Regions from separate parts of the Homo sapiens genome. Here all the other regions are linked to region 1. Evidence: promoter capture Hi-C in 16 types of primary human blood cells and fetal thymus (Javierre and others, 2016). All regions are on one chromosome and are shown on one strand. The core of a region is centred on a gene start or on the middle of the fragment in contact, and the rest is flanking DNA. Distances in the headings are between cores, read along the strand shown.

Evidence for each region. The method cuts DNA at HindIII sites, captures the fragments that hold promoters and counts their contacts. A CHiCAGO score of 5 or more calls a contact.
Region 2: a fragment that was not itself captured here is called in contact with the fragment with the promoter of TMEM200A in region 1 in 1 of 17 cell types (megakaryocytes); the score reaches 6.8 in megakaryocytes.
Region 3: a fragment that was not itself captured here is called in contact with the fragment with the promoter of TMEM200A in region 1 in 4 of 17 cell types (total CD8 T cells, naive CD8 T cells, erythroblasts and 1 more); the score reaches 6.3 in total CD8 T cells.
Region 4: a fragment that was not itself captured here is called in contact with the fragment with the promoter of TMEM200A in region 1 in 1 of 17 cell types (megakaryocytes); the score reaches 5.0 in megakaryocytes.
Region 5: a contact is called between a fragment that was not itself captured here and the fragment with the promoter of TMEM200A in region 1, in 7 of 17 cell types (megakaryocytes, activated CD4 T cells, non-activated CD4 T cells and 4 more). The highest score is 12.5, in megakaryocytes.
Region 6: a contact is called between a fragment that was not itself captured here and the fragment with the promoter of TMEM200A in region 1, in 1 of 17 cell types (megakaryocytes). The highest score is 5.5, in megakaryocytes.
Region 7: a contact is called between a fragment that was not itself captured here and the fragment with the promoter of TMEM200A in region 1, in 5 of 17 cell types (megakaryocytes, activated CD4 T cells, non-activated CD4 T cells and 2 more). The highest score is 8.8, in megakaryocytes.

The regions. Positions count from the first base shown.
Region 1 is chr6:130,364,712-130,367,411 of GRCh38, forward strand. TMEM200A (transmembrane protein 200A) reads left to right here and starts at 1,306. Exons shown (of 3, transcript NM_001258277.2): 1 at 1,306-1,813. It also overlaps a transcript of SAMD3 not described here. RefSeq lists a silencer at 740-839. The HindIII fragment of the contact is 9,800 bases long and covers 1-2,700 here.
Region 2 is chr6:130,808,296-130,810,995 of GRCh38, forward strand. No RefSeq gene overlaps it. Among named protein-coding and RNA genes, the nearest start is that of SMLR1, 18 kb to the right of the region's middle. The HindIII fragment of the contact is 4,039 bases long and covers 1-2,700 here.
Region 3 is chr6:130,827,926-130,830,625 of GRCh38, forward strand. The region is part of intron 1 of SMLR1 (small leucine rich protein 1); the gene reads left to right. Among named protein-coding and RNA genes, the nearest start is that of SMLR1, 1.9 kb to the left of the region's middle. The HindIII fragment of the contact is 1,387 bases long and covers 615-2,001 here.
Region 4 is chr6:130,871,785-130,874,484 of GRCh38, forward strand. All of the region lies in intron 14 of EPB41L2 (erythrocyte membrane protein band 4.1 like 2), which reads right to left. Among named protein-coding and RNA genes, the nearest start is that of SMLR1, 46 kb to the left of the region's middle. The HindIII fragment of the contact is 1,505 bases long and covers 618-2,122 here.
Region 5 is chr6:130,711,080-130,713,779 of GRCh38, forward strand. No RefSeq gene overlaps it. Among named protein-coding and RNA genes, the nearest start is that of SMLR1, 110 kb to the right of the region's middle. RefSeq lists an enhancer at 632-1,146. The HindIII fragment of the contact is 442 bases long and covers 1,158-1,599 here.
Region 6 is chr6:130,646,693-130,649,392 of GRCh38, forward strand. No RefSeq gene overlaps it. Among named protein-coding and RNA genes, the nearest start is that of SMLR1, 180 kb to the right of the region's middle. The HindIII fragment of the contact is 3,144 bases long and covers 1-2,700 here.
Region 7 is chr6:130,678,688-130,681,387 of GRCh38, forward strand. No RefSeq gene overlaps it. Among named protein-coding and RNA genes, the nearest start is that of SMLR1, 150 kb to the right of the region's middle. The HindIII fragment of the contact is 7,610 bases long and covers 1-2,700 here.

The DNA of each region.
Region 1 (2,700 bases), core at 56-2,555:
TAAAACATTTTGATTGTGACATCTCCACTAAAAGTGCCCAATCTCTAAATTCTTCTAGTCAAGGCAAGAAGGTTATACCACAGGAAATCCATTTCTACAGTCTCTTCTCATTGCCATATCTGATTTTAAAGACTTTTTTTTCTAATGTGGAAATTTTTGCATGGCTCTCCCCCACCCCCCAAACACGGATTTTATACCCCCCCAGAAGCAAACTTTTCTTGAAAACGAGATAAACAGATCACACGCCGAAATAAACAAATACACTGCACCAGAATATCATACTTGCCTTCTATCACTTAAAACAGATCCAGGGGACACAAGCATAGCACACACCTTGTGCATGCGGCTGGCCTGCACAGGGGGTGGTTGGAATATCCGGTAATTAGTTTTACATGAAACTTTACTTACGGAATTGGCCTGCATATATACAGTCATCACCGTCTTTGCCGAATTAGAGACGACATATTTTACTCTGTGAACAGGCCAGTCTCCACTCACTGGATGTTTGGGGTCAAGGAGGAGTAACCTGAACCTCTCGTTGGCTTTGATGTTTGGAGTCGAACATCCGCACTGCTCATCGAAGACCCCCGTGCTTCAGTTCCCTCTGTCTTCCATTTCCCCCGCCCATGGTTCTCGCCCCCCCAAGCCGTTCTCCGGAACCCCTTGCCGGGCCGGCGGGAAGCGTGGACGGAGCGGGCCTTGGCCGCGTCTTTTCCGGCCAGGTTTGGTTTAGCTCGCGCAGCGCCCGCGCAGCCCGCCAGGGGGACCCCGGCCCGCCGGGCGGCATCTGAGGAGAAAGCGTCCGAGGGGCGTGGAGCCAGGGTCCTGCGGTGCCTGCTCCGGGAATACTGCGAGTCGGCTGGAGCTCCCCAGCCGCTCCGGAGAACTGGGGGAGCCGGGTCCCTGGCTCGGTAACCGGTGGTCCCGCGGTAGCTAGAGGCGGGCCCCACGGGTGGGTGTGTCCGTTTCCGCACGCCAGCCTTCCAGCCCGGGAAGAGCGCCTGCAAGCGGGTACTTTGTTCCCAAAGATGGGTTTTGTCTGCGGGTGATTTGGGCTCTCGAAGTGCAACTTTGTGGCCGGGACGCGGATCGGCCGGCCTGGGCTCCTGCAGAGCAGATCCTGTCTGCGTCCTCCAGGAGGAGTGGGTGGCAGGACTGGGGTTTCCCACAGGTTTTGGGGCGGCGGCGAGATTGGCACGGTCCGGGGTCGCAGGCGCGCAGCCACGCCCCTGGAAGTCCGCCCCGGCCCCCGCCCCCAACCCGCCTCTTCGGGGCTTTATGGCGTGAGGTTTGGGGCTGGGATCCATCTGGAGCCGAGCAGAAAACTTTTCCCCTCCCGTTCCCGGTCCCTTTTGTCTTTCTTGGACGCGGTGGCGGCGCCGCCTGAGCGGCGACTCCCTCTCCCCTGCCCGGCTTGCTGCGCCCGGTGCCCTCCGAGGGCAGGCGCGCCTGGACTCTGCGCCCGGATGGCGGCGGCCCTCTGTGAGCACCGGCAGCGGCGCATCCCCTGCCCCGAGGCCTCCGGTGCCCCCCCGGCGCGGGCATAGGGGCGCCCCCACCCTCCGTCCGCTTGCACCCCTTGCCACCCGCCCCCTCGCCTGACTCATCCGCCCGCGGTGGCCGCCCGAGCCCTGGGATGGGGAGGGAGACCGCGGCTGCCCGCGGCGGCCGAGATTCCCGCTGACGCCCCCGACCCTGCCGCCTTCTTCGTCCGCCTCCAGAGGCGCCCGACGTCCCGACAGCTCCTGGAGTGAGACCAGGACTGAGAACAGGGAGAGGCGACCCGACCCCCAGGGCCCGGTGCTCAGGACAGGTGAGGGGAAGGAAAGGGTGCTGACGGGAGTGGGGAGGTGGGTGGGCGGCCACCGCAGCCGAAACCGGGCACTTCTTCAGCCCTCTGCCCTCCCCTCCCCTCCGCTACAGCCTCCAGAGTTAGGTAAACGCTGTCTCTCCTAAAGTTTGGGAAATAAACCAAGTCCGCCATCAGGTCCAGACTCCCCAGTCCCGGGAGCGCGAGAGAAGCCGTGCGGGGCAGCCTCCAAGAACCCGGAGTACTGGAGCGCCTGGCTGGGTTTCTCCAAGCAACACCCTCCTTTGTCTCGGTTCCTGAGAGTCAGCATTCTCTGTAATGTCCACAGCGTTAATTCATGATTGAGCAAAGTATGGTCAGGGTTTCGTAAAGCAGTATCTGGATGGGGTAGAATCTACACAGGCAAAATGGAGAGGCAAAGCAATTATTTGCAAAATTCAGCACTACTCTTCTCCCTGTAGTCTTGTCTGTAAGAGAAAGGACTGAGGGCTTCTAAGATTTGCTTCATTAATCATTCTTTTGCTATAAATTGTTCCAGCCAACACTTCACATTGTGTAGGCGCAAGCTCTCTGTGTGTATTTACCGCTGTTTGATTTAGAAAAATGTGTGTGTGTTTGTGTGTTTTTTTTAAATAACAATTCATTGTTCAGTACCGGGCATTGGTAATGTCGGAGAGAAAGGCAGATGCAGCACATACAGGTAATTGACTAATTGGAATCAGCCTTAGTCCGGTCCACCTTAGTCTGGTGTATTTAAAAACTAAATATGTTGGACTAAAGTGTCTCTTGCCTTGTCTCTTCTGAATACCTTCAGAAGTAGTTATGGACAACTGCATAGAAAACATTTCAAGAATCGATGATTATTCTTGTTTATAAGAAAGAATATTGAA
Region 2 (2,700 bases), core at 120-2,619, 440 kb after region 1:
TTAGCCAGGTGTGGTGTCTTGCATGTACAGTCCCAGGTACTTGGGAGGCTGAGATGGGAGGACTGCTTGAGCTAGGGAGGTTGAGGCTGCAGTGAGCCATGATTGCACCACTACACTCCAGCCTGGGCAACAGAGCAAGATCTTGTCTTAATTAAATTTTTAAAAAATTATTTTTTTTTTTTAAAAAAGAACTTAATCAGCTAAAACTCAATAGGAAGGTAACACAATAAAAAATGAGCAAAGGTTTGAACATTTTACAAAAGAAGTTATATGAGTAACCAGCAAGAGTATGGAAAGATGCTCAACATCTTTAGTAATCAGATGTATTCATCATGTTTTTTTTATTCTGTAGTTTTGATGCTTTGACATCTTGTTGACCTTGGAGGGGACTGTTCCTCCTAGGGCTACCTAATGCTAATTCCCAAAGATAGCAGTCTAACGAAACCAAAATTCTACAAAACATATAGTTGAGGGTGGGGCTCTGAATTGGTTGGTTTGCATATGAAAAGCACCTCACAAGTGACAACAAACTATCTTTTTTTTTTTTTTTTTTTTGAGACAGAGTCTCGCTCTGTCGCCCAGGCTGGAGTGCAGTGGCATGATCTCGGCTCACTGCAACCTCCATCTCCTGGGTTCAGGCAATTCTCCTGCCTCAGCCTCCTGAGTAGCTGGGATTACAGGTGCCCACAACCATGGCCAGCTAATTTTTGTAGTTTTAGTAGAGACAGGGTTTCTCCGCGTTGGCCAGGCTGGTCTCGAACTCCTGACTTCAAGTGATCCGCCTGCCTCGGCCTCCCAAAGTGCTGGCATTATAGGCATGAGCCACTGTGCCTGGCTCAAAGTATCTTTTTAATGGCAGTCATCCTGATCCATTGTCCTTGCCATACCTCAAAGATAATAAAATTTTATATTTTAAAACACATGGAAATTCAAATTAAATGCACAATGAAATAAAACTACATACTTACTAGCATATATAAAATTTTAAGAAGATGATAATATCAAGTATGGGTGAGGACAGTGAGCAACTGGCACCTTCATACATTGCTGGTGAGACTGCAAAATAGTATAATCATTTTGGAAAGCTGTTTGACAGTTTCCTATAATTTTAAACATACACTTACCATACGACCCAGCAATTCCAATCCTAAGTATTTACTCAAAAGAAATGAAAATATATGTCTACACAAATTGTCTGCAAATTTATTCATGATAACCAAAAACTGAAAATTAAGTGTCCATCAATAGGTGAATAGATAAACAAATTACAGCATATCCATAGTGATATGGAATGATATGGCATAAAATACTACTCAGCAATCAAGAGGAATTAATTACTGAAAGATGCAACACATGAATAAATTATGCTATGCAAAAAAGCCAGACACAAAAGCATACATACTGTAAGACTCCATTTCTATAAAATTCTAGAAAAGATCAATTTAATTTACATTGACAGAATATCAGTTTGCCTGGTGTCAGGAGTGGGGACGAGTGTGAAGAGGCACAAGAACAATTTTGGGGGATGATAGAAATATTCTATATCTTGATTGTGGTAATGATTACCTGAGTATGTGAATGTGTCAAAATTCATTGAAATACAAACTTACATGGTTACATTTTACTGTATGTTAACTACACCTCAATAAAGTTGATTTTTAAAAAAACATTATCCTTGAAATAGAATCGATTTTGTCAGTTTTATTTACTATTATTTTGCCCATAATGAGTTAATATGTCTGACTACTCTGAAAATGTTATGAAAAGAAAAAAGCTATATGTGGAAGTAATTATTGAGACCAGATGGTTTTCTGCTCTTTGAAGAGTTGACAATATTAACAGTATTGCTTTATGTGTCTATAGAGTCTTATCTCTGTTACTTCGTGTTATTATGTATCTATAAAATGCCACTTTGTAGCAATAGCTGTACATTGCAAATATCCTTTTACATGGCTTAACCATTGATTCTGACATACAGACCCTGTTATGCGTCCCTCCAGTTCTGACATACAGGAGGCTTTTGCTCACCAGCAATGACAGAAAAACTGCATGCCAGTTCAGGAATGCACTGTCTGGACCAACATTTGCCCTGCATTCCCAAGAGGAAGGTTAGGAACCCTAAGCAGCTGGAGAGATGCCCAGGAAAAGAATGTCCCCATCTCTGCTTCTTTTTTAGGTGAGTGGGGAAGATAAAACAGAACTGCCAGATGGCTACAACTCATTACTGCCTGGCAGTATTCAGGATGAAATAAGAGTAAATTAATCAGCATTCAGGAGGAATTAATGGCAAGGGGAGATGTGTATCGATGCTATTTTAGCCCAAGTCAAATTAAACCTGTAGAACTGACAACACACATTAATCTCCCATTGCCTCCAGTAGCTGTGCAAATGAGCTCCTCGTTTCTTTATACAAACAACTGTCATTTTGACGTTACTACTTTGGCAAAAAATTCTAGCGATGGCCTGGTAAGTTACCCCTAGTGATTAATACAGACTTGCGCTTTAAACTCGCTCTGCTAAGGAAAGAACGTAGTCTATATGGTAGCCATGAATCTCTAAGCGGCAGCCTTCTGACAGAAAGAAGGGCTTGTGTAAACCAATAGTCTGATTAGTCAGTTGTCTGCAAACGCTCAGGCTTAAATGAGCACTGAGGATTAACTGGATATTGCAGAAGTTGCAAGGATTTTTTTTTCCTAAAGG
Region 3 (2,700 bases), core at 58-2,557, 460 kb after region 1:
GACATATGGTTGCTTGTCTCTCTCTCTCAAGGCAATAGAGTCACATATGTGAAAACATTGTTCATGGTCTGCCTTCTTTACATGACAGATGTGTTTATGTGGCCATGTGTGTGCATGTCCGTGCGTGTGTATGCGCCCGTGTGTGCACACACACAACTTTCTCATCCACTGAACTTCTGGTCAGGGAATGTTCCAAACATTCTGCTGTCACAGTCTTTGTAAATGTAAAGCCCTGATAGATAAATACTTGACCTTGGTGTAAACGTTCCATGGGATTATAGTCTTAAGGTGGAAAAAAACCAAACCAAACAAATAACTCAGGAAGCTTAAGGTGATTTGGAATGGACATTCGGGTCTTGGATTGACACTGTTTATTCTGCTATAATTAAAATTAATGAAACTGGGCTGTAACTAGATAGACTATGTGTTAATACTGTGCCAAGTACACATGAGATTAATATCATCAAGGTTAATAACTATTTTAGCAAAATCAACAAAGACCAGTCATATTTCTTAATTTGGATAGTGTCATATTAAAACAAATTTGAAAAACCCTCCTCTTTGAACATCTGTTTATGTAATAACATACATGAAGGCATTTCTTGGACTTGCCAAGCTTTTGTGGTAATCTTAGATCACTAATGCTATAATATATAACCTAACAGAAGTGCAATGAGGGATATTTCTTCCTAAGATGAGATTTGGAACATAAAGAAATCCTAGGAGACACAGACAGTATGTCATGGAATCAAGTTTTTCATCACAACTTACTCAAATATGCCCCTAGCCTTTCATTTTTCGTGTGTCTCATTTTTATGAACAGCCCTTTTGCTGAGGGGTCAAGCCATATTCTGCCTCACTCTATAATATTCATGTGATAAATCCTTTTCTTTGTTAAGTCAGTTTATCCTCCACTGCCCTAAGACCAGTCTGTTGGATGCTCTTGTCACCCAGCCATTCATTACCACTGAACCCCGGAAGTAGCCTCCAAAAAGGAAGAGAAAATAAGAAATCCCCAAGATCATAACCATGGCTTCCCTTCAGTGTCTTCCAAGTCGAAATGTTTTTCAGAGTTGTTGCAAAGATTCCCATCCGTAACACTCACTGCATCTCAGCCTCCCATTGACATTGAACGTCCCAGGGACAATAAAACGATGCTGATGTCATCATCGGGGACTTGGAGACTTCCTGTAGTTTCCAAGTTTCATCTCTGGCTGGATGAAATTTTCAGTATTTCAAAAACTGCAGCAAGTACAGGTCTAGATAGCCTCATGGATATCAAGATCCCTTATTGGCCTCTACTTCACAGCTATTACAGGCCAGTTAATTCAGTGGGACATCTGGTATTTGGGATAGACTCTGCAAAAAGAGGGTGAATCTGTTTTATAGTTTTACTCATTCCTGGAAAAACATCTGTAATATGTAACATGTAAATGGGTCTATGGTATTTTATTTAGATAATTCTGAGGTATAAATGTATGAATCACATTGCTTTAGAATACCCTGGAAAAGTCAACGTGCAGGGTATGGCCTGGCATCACAGGGGCTGATGCAGGGGAAATGCAGTCCAAGTGCCAGCCCCAGAGGAAGTGCTCCATGTGTGTACACCTCTGTGATGATTGCACGCTGATGCCCTCCTATCTTCAGCACTTCCCTGCCCGTGCAAGTTATCTAGAGATCAAGTCTCAGAAAAAAGTTACTACCTTAAGTTTGTAACTCAATACAATTGAAACTACTTCTGAAGGATTTGAGTGAAGGGAGCAGAGGCTCCCAATAACCTCTTGTTTCTTCACACTTCCTTCCCCTTTCTTCATTCCAAATTCTGACATGCTACTGAGCTTTTCTTGACTTCTAGACTTGCCCACAACTGTTAAGTCTGTCCCTTCCATCTCAGAGCCTTTATTTTTGTAGCATAGGATCTAACCCAAGGGAAAGCAAGCATGTCAGCCTCACACGATGAGGGTCCATGCTCACTGGGTAGAGTCATTACACCAACTTTAAAGCTTACTCCAAACTTATGTCATATTCTGGATAGCGATAATTCTCATTCATTTATTCAACGAATATTTGTTAGTCTATCATATACCACAGACTGTCCCAGATACTGGGACAGATTTTTACTATGAGTTTTTAAGACTAAGAGAAAATAATCCCAGTTCTAGAAAACCACAGAAGGCATCTGGCAAAATCAGCAGAAGTTAGAGGAGGTGTTGCAAATCTGTATGTTTCTGATTCTGGCCTCATTAAATGTCTGATCAAAGAGCTATAATAATAACCTGGACTTTTCCCTCAGTGTCAGGGCTGAGCACTTCACCAGAGGCAGGATCCTCTACAGTGAAGGGGCACCCCCAGCCAGGTTATGAGCCTCCATTTTCTGTGGTTTTTCCCCATTGTCTCCTACTTGGGCTTGCTCTAATTGAAGTGTGCCTGGAGCTTCCAGGCTGCAGGTAGGAATTACAGGAAGAGTGAGTGAGGAGGCAGAAGGAGCTATTTACCATGGCAGAACAAAAATGTGTGCATCCGTTACTTAACGCAATGGGGGTCCCATCTGAAATTTATTGTTGGAAAGAATACTAATGACTAGAAACACTATTACTGCCAACCATCTGGAAGATGCTCAGTGAGGATGTCAAAGGCATTTAAACGAGAGCAACTCCATCTTGAATAGGGGCTAGGTAAAATGAGGCTGAGACCTACTGG
Region 4 (2,700 bases), core at 120-2,619, 510 kb after region 1:
AACCATGACTACATATAATAAACATATCCAGTGACCAGAACATTTCTGAAACACACATTTCATTATTATTATAGATCAGTGAATTATTATTATTGTTATATCTTAACCTCAATTAGCTGGATAGGTTCTGCCCAAGTTCAGGGAATTCCTTAGGGTCATTCAAAAGCAATTATGTCATGGAGCATGGGAGGCACTTCAGATTTTTTCCATATAAACAGAATTTTAAAAATAACATGCCATCAGAGGATGCCTGAAATTTGGGGTTTTGAAAATGTCAACTCTGCAAAGCATATCTGGTTGAGGGTTTCCCTCTGCTTAACAGCCCAGACTCTGGAACTTAATGATTTAAATTATTCTCTGAATTTAGGCAGATTTTTTTTTTCTTTGACCAAAGAAGCAGGAGAAACATCCAATCTATATCTTTTCTTCATGTTCCAATTCAGTCATTGTTTCTTGAATGTTTCTCCCAGGAAGAATTAATTTCACCAATGAAAGCACTGGAGGGAATGGTGCCTGAATATTTAAAAAAATGAAAATCTCTCTCATATGTGGCTTTTAGTAACAGGGGAAACAAAGTAAAATGCACCTCAAGCAAGTGTGAGAAGGGCGAGGAAGAAAGCTTTTCAGAAGGTGCATTAGCGCTCACAACAGCGCCCTCTGCTGTCCAAGTGGTGGCTGAAGTGAAGGTGGCTTTCATGCTATCAGAAAAGCCCTTTTCACTAAACAAAATTGATGTTATCTCCTCTTCTAGGCTCTAGAGAGGTCAGAAAAGGAAGAGCAAAGAATTAGCAATAAGTCAGAACAGACAGCAGTGACCTATTGGAAGAAAGGAAAGGTTACACAAGAAAGAACAACAGAACAGCATAAAATGAAAGAAAAGATGAGAATTCTGACAGATTCTGGAGCAGGCTTATGAAGAGGTTTGTGAGCGCCAGCTTTTCCACCCTGCTTGAGAATCTTTGATAGTTGCGACCTCCAGAAACCAGTGAAAACTGCTTGGCTGATCACCAACTGAGCACAACCGACCCACCCAAACGCCATTTCATATATTCTTGAGGTAGTTCCTTGGCCTTTCTCTGCACGGAATGGCCTCTTCAGTGGCCCCTACACTTGAAATGCTTATTCCTGTGTTACAGCTTGGGCAGTCCTCCCTCTCCTGCCTCCAAGGCCCTTCTTTGCCCTTATCTGCACATTCTGGGCCTTTCCAGTTTTCTAACCTCCCTGAGGCCCACTTCATAGTCTGCATTTTCTGTAAGGCCTTCCCTCACCACTCCAACTCCTACAATCTCCCTCCTCAATACCACCTTAACTCTCTGTACAACAAACATTCTGACAGCAGCCCACATTCATTCCCTCAGGCGTGCTAAATATGCCACAGAGTAAATTACCCTGTCCCCTTTTTTTGCAAAAAGAAACAGGTAAAGAAAAACAATTCAAAATAGGAAGACAAACTCAGAGTTGAAAGCTCAATGAGCAACGTGAAAATTATTTCTCCCTAAATTAAACCATTAAAGCAAATTTAACTTTGCTGTGTCTGGCTCTTAAACAATGGCTCCCAACCTGCCTGAGGGACAGCAGAACTGTCCTTAGAAACTTGAAATGTCAATATTCAAGAGTCATCATGAAGCACCCCCTCATGTCAGAAGTGTGAGAATAATTCCTAATAAACCCCACTATTCAGGTTTTTTTTTTTTTTTGAGACGGAGTCTCGCTCTGTCACTCAGGCTGGAGTGCAGTGTGCCGCGATCTCGGCTCACTGCAACCTCTACCTCCCAGGTTTAAGTGATTTTCCTGCCTCAGCCTCCCCAGTAGCTGGGATTATAGGCGTGCAGCACCATGCCCAGCTAATTTTTATATTTTTAGTAGAGACGGGGTTTTGCCATGTTGGCCAGGCTGGTCTCTAACTCCTGACTTCAGGTGATCTATCCTCCTCGGCCTCCCAAAGTGCTGGGAATACAGGCGTGAGCCACCGCACCCAGTCACTATTCAGAAATCTTAAAGAAAAATCAATGACGCTCCTAAGGGGCCCCTTCATACTGTGAGCTAAGAAGGGTGAGGAGCGCAGAAAGTGAGGTGAGGAGGGTGAGGGGAGTAGGCACTTGCAATATTCAGCAGAGGAAAAAGCTTTTGGACTGACTTAACTTCATTACCATCTCTATGATTACATCGTCCCTTGGGGAAGTGGGGGTGGGTGGGATGCCCTTCCCAGTGAGAGATCACTGGGGAATTTAAAGAAGTGCCACACATTTCGTTATCCAATGACATACCTTCAAAAGTACCTTACAACTCAATGTACATAATCTCTTAGACTCAGGAGAGAATAGTCTATGCAAATTTAAGTCATCATAATTCATACAACACGTTAAGAGGATTACAATAGAGTTATTTACCCATTAAAGATTAAATGACTTGGTTTCCAATTTTCTGCTCTACTCTCAAAATTGTTCAAACTACAGCCACTTTGAAAATGCAATGTATTTTTTTTTTTTAAAAAGAAACTATTCCTGCTTTTTTAAAAAGCTATAAAAGCCCATATTATAGAAATTTGGAAAAGTGGTCAAATTATATACTTATGCATAATTTTTTTATTTTACTTTCAATAAGAATTACAATTCAAAGATAAACGAGAACCCCTGCAGAATTAACAGTAAAATGAAGATACAACAAAGACAGAAATTGAAAAGGTACTCTGGTAAAGTC
Region 5 (2,700 bases), core at 129-2,628, 350 kb after region 1:
TGTGTGTGTGTGTGCGTGTGTGTGTCTGAGTCTTCACATAACATCCTTCTCTCTGTGTATCTGTGTCCATATTTGTCCATATTTCCATCTTCTTGTAAGGACATTGGTCATTGGCCTAGAGTTCACTCTTACCCTGTACTACCTCATCTTCACGTGAATATACTTGCAAAGACCATTTCCAAGCAAGGTCACATTCACACATACTGAGGATTAGGACTTCAGCATATCTTTTGGGAGGGCACAATTCAACCCACAAAACAAGTGATATTCAGATACAGCAGAAGTCATGAAAGTGGGATATAAAGAGCATTTTGAAACTCTGAGGATACTACTACAATGGAAAGAGGGGTGTATAAAGGAACCAGGACATATGTTCAGTTACACACAGGCCCACGAGCTTCAAGTCAAGCAATGTATTGTGATTTCTCAGAATGTGATCAACATTTGCTAACACCCCTCTAGACTCCTAACCTTAGCAAGTCATATCTGAAAATTATGTAGTCAGAACATAAAAAAGGAATCAAAATATTGATGCTGCTGGAAAAACAATCCAAAATACATGTATAGTCAGTGGTGTTGTCAAATGGAGGCAACACACATTTTTTATATTTCTCTGAGCATTTAGCCTTCTTCTAATAATTGATGTCTCCAAGGTAGAATTTAATTTCAATAATATTTCTAGCCAAAAATGACCATCCTTGTATAGTCATGCATCACTTAAAGATGAGGAAATGGTTATTAGGTGATTTAGTTGTGGTATGAACTGTCAGGCCTCTGAGCCCAAGCCAAGCCATCACATCCCCGGTGACTTGCACATATACGCCCAGATGGCCTGAAGTAACTGAAGAATCACAAAAGAAGTGAAAATGCCCTGCCCCACCTTAACTGATGACATTCCACCACAAAAGAAGTGTAAACGGCTGGTCCTTGCCTTAAGTGATGACATTATCTTGTGAAAGTCCTTTTCCTGGCTCGTTCTGGCTCAAAAATCTCCCCCACCGAGCATCTTGCGACCCTCACTCCTGCCCGCCAGAGAACAAATCCCCTTTGACTGTAATTTTCTTTTATCTACCCAAATCCTATAAAACGGCCCCACCCTTATCTCCCTTCGCTGACTCTCTTTTCGGACTCAGCCCGCCTGTACCCAGGTGATTAAAAGCTTTATTGCTCACACAAAGCCTGTTTGGTGGTCTCTTCACACGGATGCCCATGAAATGAACATCATAGAGTGTACTTACACAAACCTAGCTGGTTCAGCCTACTACACACCTAGGCTAGATGGTATAGCCTATTGCTCCTACCTAGGCTACAAACCTTTACAGCATGTTACTGTACTGAATACTGTAGGGAACTGGAAGACAATGGTAAGTATTTATGTCTCTAAACATATCTAAACATAGAAAAGGTAAGGTACAGTAAAATTATGATATAATCTTATTATGGGTCATAGATGCAATCCAACATTGACCAAAACATCATTATGTGTCACATGGCTATACTTGGAGAGGACTTCCTCTAATCTGGGCACTATTTCCCAGTACCTAGCATTAGCCTCTAATTTTTTTAGTCCCCAGCTGTGTCTCCTTGCAGGAAAACAAAAGCTTATAGTTTGATAATTAAATTAATTATAGAAAGTAATTATTACATGCTATACCTCAAAAAATTTGATCTGCAATTTGTCACACAGCATAAAGGGGGAGGGACAATTAGGAAGAGTCATTTTGCATTTAGAAGGTCAAAATTGGGATGTTTACTATTTGAAATTGAGCAAGAAACTCTGGGGAGAAAATAATAATAATAAATCTTGTAAACGGTTTTATGAAACCCTGGAACGCTTTGGATATTAGGAAGGTTTCCCTGTCTCATTTGTTGAAGTAATAAAGTGTGAAGAAATGGTAAATCTGATTAGCCACGCTTTTCTAGCATTAACCTACAGTCTGAAAGGAAAGAAAGAATATCTAAAATTTCAATCACTGTTGTTTCCTGTGCTTAATCAGTTAAAGAAAAAATGTTCCCCAAGGCTGTTCAGAAAACAGTGATGTTCAGGTATGTGAGAAATCATTCGGAAACCCATGGACCTGTGGCCAAGGCATATGCATTTTTCTGAATGTTGTCAAAAGCAGTTTTATCTTCATAATGTAAGGCAGAGGCTTCTTGGTTGTTTGTGAACCACCTGGTGTTCACAGACCAATGCAGGAATGCAGAAAGCTGTTTCCATGGCAATGAGACTTTCCTCCTGGCAACCACCCCTCCCCCACCTCCCATCTTTCTACGCTGTCAGGAGTTGAGATAGGATTTCTGCAAAGAGCAGCGATGGTGATAGAGCAAGCATTTTGTGTTTTTTTCAAATGCATCGGCTGCATGTTTATAAGCAGTAGGTGAATCTCCTCTGCCCACATGTGGAGAGGTTCACAGACCCATTAGAATCCAACCTTCTCACATTCAAATCACTACATCAATAGCATTTTCTTTAACATCTCAGTTTATGAACAGACACTTCCTAGGTCAAAGGTCAGCGACTACAGCCCAGAGGCCAAACCTGGCCTGCCACGTGTGTTTCTAAGCAAAGCTTTATGGAAAGATGGTCACACTCAGGTGGTTATGTACTGCCACGGATGCTTCTATGTTTCAGTGGCTTAACTGACTAGTTGACAGGACAGACAGACACCATATGGCCCGAAAGTCCAAAAAACATTGACT
Region 6 (2,700 bases), core at 1-2,500, 280 kb after region 1:
GACATCGATGTTCACTGTAGAGCAGTGAATGAAGTGTCCTGTTGTTAGAGACTGAGCACAGCTGGGTTCGACTTGCCTAGCAACAGGGCTCTAATGTGACTTTTTATTTTGTAAAATTCGGGCCTCTAAAATACTTCATGGCATTTGGAAACCTTGTGTCTGTCTTACTGTGCACCGTATGATCAACACCATATGCTGACAGATGAGAATGGAAGCTATTATGTGTTGAAGTATATTGAACCTAGGGTAAAACTGGTATAGAATACAAAATGTTCATTTTACACTCTCTCAGGTAGATGATAATTTGAGTAATATTTGCCCATAGAAGAGCAGAAGTCTATAAATGTTGTGTTCACCATAAAAGAAGCAGAAAAGGAATACCCATAGAGTTGGCTATAAAAAGGAAAAGCCTAACTAGTTTGAAATAATCTTTTTTTCTTTGAATTTCTCCTACTTGACCTTCTAAAACTTTTCAGACTCAGTTCATTTCATTCATCCTGTATTATTTATCTTTTGTTCAGCTTTAATCTTGAAAACAAACACAGAGAAGGATTTTTGAGGTGCATTTATTTCCCCTCTGAGTTGTGGTTTGATTAGTTTGGAGACTTACTATCCTTTAGGTATTTGCCCTTTCAAATTTCAAATGTGTTCCTTTTCTTTCCCTTCAGTATTTCCACATTCTTTTGGAATGCTTTTATTTATAGAAAGCAAAATGCAGTCAAAATATAATATTCTTCTATCAGTCAGCTTAAATTAATGCTCCCAAAATTATTCTACATTCTTTTAAAAACCATGACTCACTTATAAGACCCCACATAATTTTCAGCTATGCTAAAAATCAGCAGGAAGAGGAAAAGAGACAGAAATGATAAAATTTTAAAAAATGATTAGTTGGGAAAAGAAAGCATTGTGCAGTTGACTTGCATCAGGGCAATGGAAGTGTGCTGCCAAATTCCTTTGGACTTTTTTAAGCTCTACAGCTAAATATTCTGAAGAGTTAGTCTACTTATATTAATTTTGTGTTGGCATGTACTGTATATATATGTGTATATATACATATATATGAGATATTACTAGTAACAATTTGCGATATTAAAATCTATTGCAAGTAATTTTGTGCCAGACAACATATTGCCACTTATATTAGGTACTTATTTGTTGTTACATTTTATATTATATTATTAAAAAACCTTGAAGACCTTTAGTCTCTGAAATAAAAACCTGTAATTGTTTAATTTTATTTTATGGATATGTCAACAGACAGATCTGTGGGGTATTCTATTTCTTTGATTGCTATCTTTCAATGAAGATCTTTCTATTAATCTGCTATTCAGTGTCAGAGTCCACAGATAAATCCAATGTTTACTTTAGAGCTTTATAAAATGTACACTATTTTAGAACATTTGTAAAAGTGTATGTTGTATTTGAGACTTGCAGTGATATGCATGCATAATATGTATAGGTCTGGGGCACGGCAAGGCTGGAGTTAGAATACTCACAACCTTACACACTAACATAGGCCTCCAAAGCAAGTAAGCAGATAGCAGGCTCCAGTCTCTTTGACAAAGTGACTTCATAAGCCACAATAATAGCTATGGTTTTTGAGCTACGCAAATTGTGCTAGATGCTTTACATTTATTACTTCTAATCCTTATATGAAATGTGAAAAGTTACCTCTCTTTTATATATGAGGAAACGGTCTCAGAGATTTTGCTATTGACCTAGTAAGTTCCAGAAGAATTATATCTGGCCCCAAAGCCTATTCCATCCACTAAAGTATAATATACCAGAATTGAGTGAAAAATAACAAGGTAAAAGAAAGATGTGAGCATGAGTGCTCTTAACACAATGTAGGAGGAGCAGCTTTTCTAACATCTAACTCAGGTTTTAAAGAAGTCTCACTTGTTCCTTATCACTCAATATTGAAACTAATATAATTGACCAATATGGATTTATGCTTCTAGCAGCAAAACATAGCCATGATAAAAAGAACACAGGTTTTCAACTGACCTTACGGTTTTACATCTCAATTCTGCTATTTACTAGATGTGCAGACTTAAGTGAGACATGTAACACTCTAAGTCTGGCTTTCCTTATCTGTAAAATGCGAATATCTCTATACACGCTTCATAAGCTAGCTGTGCTTAACTAGAAAATGCATTATAATTACTGTGATGCAAAAGGCTGTCAATAAGGGGCAGATATTTTTTCTGAGGCTACACTTCCTAATATGTAAAATTACTTTGGTGAACATTAGTTGAACTGGAGAAGTAAATACAGATCCCAACACATATAGCTATAACTGTTGTGGTTATTTTTAAAAATAAGTCTATTATAGCAGTTTCTAGAGATTGTCAGTACTACTATCATTGATTTTGCCTTGCCTTAGGACTTCATCCTCATAAAAAGGTAAGTTTATAGTAATGATTTTGACAGTCTTCGACGGCCACTTGCTTTCCTAGCCTTGTTTATTCAACCTCTGGACCCAGAGAGAGGAAGACCAGTACTGCTGCAGTCGGCTCCTGCTGCAGGCCTCATAGAGCTGGGTGGGGTGCATCATTTCATTTGTAAGTAAATCTCAATGATAAACATTCAAATGGTCACATGCTTTGCCCCAAAAGGCATTGATCTCCAGTGAATCTTTTGAAAAGACCGTATCATTTGTCATCTTATCTCAGAGGTACAGGTGAAGTCATCAAT
Region 7 (2,700 bases), core at 20-2,519, 310 kb after region 1:
GGCATGAACATCAGGAGGCAGTATCACGGAGTGATCAACTTAGAGTCTGTCTGCCATACATCTGAAAGATTAAGTTTGGTTAGTTACATTTTAATAACTCAGCAGAAATATCCAATATAATTAGTGAACACAATTTTTTAAACCCCCAGAATATAGAGCTAAAAGATAGTCAGAAAATATGAGAGAAAAGACAAGGGAAATTAAAGAGTTTTGTCCTCTAAAAAATAAAGATGTAGGAACAATAAGGAGTTTACTTTGGGAGAATACAAGAATGAGAGAGAAGGGATGTAGGAAGAGGAAGGGCATGAATAACTTTGGTAGAAATTAAAATGTTTTTTGCTTGGGTCTTTATGTATTTTAAGACCCTGGAGGTTGGCCATTTGCTAATTACGTGACCTTAAAACAAGTTACTATTCCTCTGGGATTCTCAACTCATCTATAAAATAAGGAAAATAAAAACCTCCCATCACATCACTTGTAAAGATGAAAGGAAATAATGCAGCTAAAGCACTCTCATGGTCAATGTTATGTGTCAACTTGTCTGGGATAAGGGATGCCCAGATAGCTGGTAAAACATTATATTTGGGTGTGTCTATGAAGGTATTTTCAGAAGACATTAGCATCTAAATCAACAGACTAAGTAAAGAAGATCACCTTCACCAATATGTGTAGGCATCATCCAATCTGTTGAGTCCTCAAAAAGAACAAAAGTTGGATGAGGGGTGATTTCATTCTCTCTTCTTGAGCTGGTATATTCATCTGCTCCTGCCCTTGGACATCAGAGCTACTGATTCTCAGGCCTTCAGACTTAGATGGGAGTTACACATTGGCTCCCCTGTTTTCCAGGCCTTTGGACTTGGACTGGAAGTACAACGCTGGCTTTCTTTGGACTCCATCTTGCAGACAACAAGTAGTGGGATTTCTCAACCTCCATGATCTCTTGAGCCAATCCCTCATAATTAATCCCCATGTATCTATATAACTAACACATATATATTTATATAGATAGATAAATGCATATCCTACTGGTTCTGTTTTTCTGGAGAACCCTGACTAATACAACTACTTAGCACAGGGCCTGGTACAGAGGTAAACTCAACTAACATTAATACTATGTGTATAGCTTTTACAAATTACTCACTTGATAAACCCTTCAGTAAGTGCCCGAAGATTATTTCCACATCATAACTTTGCATTTTCTCATGTCAGGGTAAGCAGTGCCTTTCCTCCCTAATTTGAGGGATTAAAGTGCAACTCCAGTTCCCAGGAATTGTGGTCCTTAGCCTTGCCACAGACGTGGAACACTTTGTAATATGACTTTTGCCATTGAACAATGATTCAAATGTGCATTTAGAAAACTAAGGCAGTAAGAGCAAAACTGAGTTAAAATATTCAGCCAAAAGGAGACAGAGACATAGATTTAAAAAGAAAGTACATTGCAGCATTTGTTTCACAAGAACAAAGTGATTTATTGAGGGAATAAATCATTAAGGATATTCTTGTTAGCTGTGATTTTAACTTTTAGAATATCTGACATACATTCTTTTGAATGTGAAAGTGCTGATTTCCCTCGTCACTTTCACCATGAGCACCCCTTCATTTTTACTTTCTTGCCAAGTTGATTACTCAGAAAATTGGATGCTTGATGGTAGCCCGGCAGCTCTAATTCTTACTTCTCAGACTAGTCTGAACTTGTAGATATAGGCTGCCTGGAAAATCCTTCATCACAACATATTCTTGAATCGCCTGAAGATGAATTTACAATTCTCATTTTTCACTTTTTTTTTTTTTTTTTTTTTTTTTTTTTTTACAGAGTCTCACTCTGTAGCTCAATGGAGTGCAGGGGCATCTCATCTCACTGCAACCTCCATCTCCCAGGTTCAAGTGATTCTCATGCCTCAAGCCTCTCGAGTAGCTGGGATTATAGGCATGTGCCACCACGCGCAGCTAATTTCTGTATTTTTTTTTTTTTTTAGTAGAAACAGGGTTTTACCATGTTGGCCAGGCTGGTCTCAAACTCCTGGCCTCAAGTGATCCGCCCACCTCAGCCTCCCAAAGCATTTTTCACTTCTTTACATGAGTATTGTACATTTTTAAACTTTATAAAAGTAATACATGGATATCTTTAAATAGTACAAAAAGGAAAAAGTAATCTCCCTTCCCTCTCCTTAAAGGCTGAAACACTGCTAAGAATTTCTGGTGTACCCTGAAAAAAAACTGTATCTGAATGGAATCTTTCGTTACCACAAGATAAATAGTAATGTGACTCCAAATAATTAGAACAGTCTAACGTTCATTAAGATACAAACTAGCATTTTATAGAAATTTTATCTGAAAACTCTAGTGCCATAAGGGGTGGCAGATTTTCCTTTGTGGCTTTTAAGTCCTTTTGTGTACTAGTCCAGCCTGAAACTGAAAATATCTTGATATATGGTCATGGGAAACACTAAACAGGCTCATTTATGGTTAGAAAAATCTGAATAGAACTTCTTGGTAGTTTGGGGAATTCTGGCAATGAAACTTCACTCAAACAGTTTGATGTTAATTGAGAGACCAAAAACCTTAGGGAAATATTTTCCTAAGTCATCCCACACTAAGATATAAATAGCCCGATGGTGAAATAATAACAACAATAACAGGAATAGGTCATAAAGGCATTGAGTCATAAGTGCTGAAATTCATCCCTGTTTTTCTGGGAAG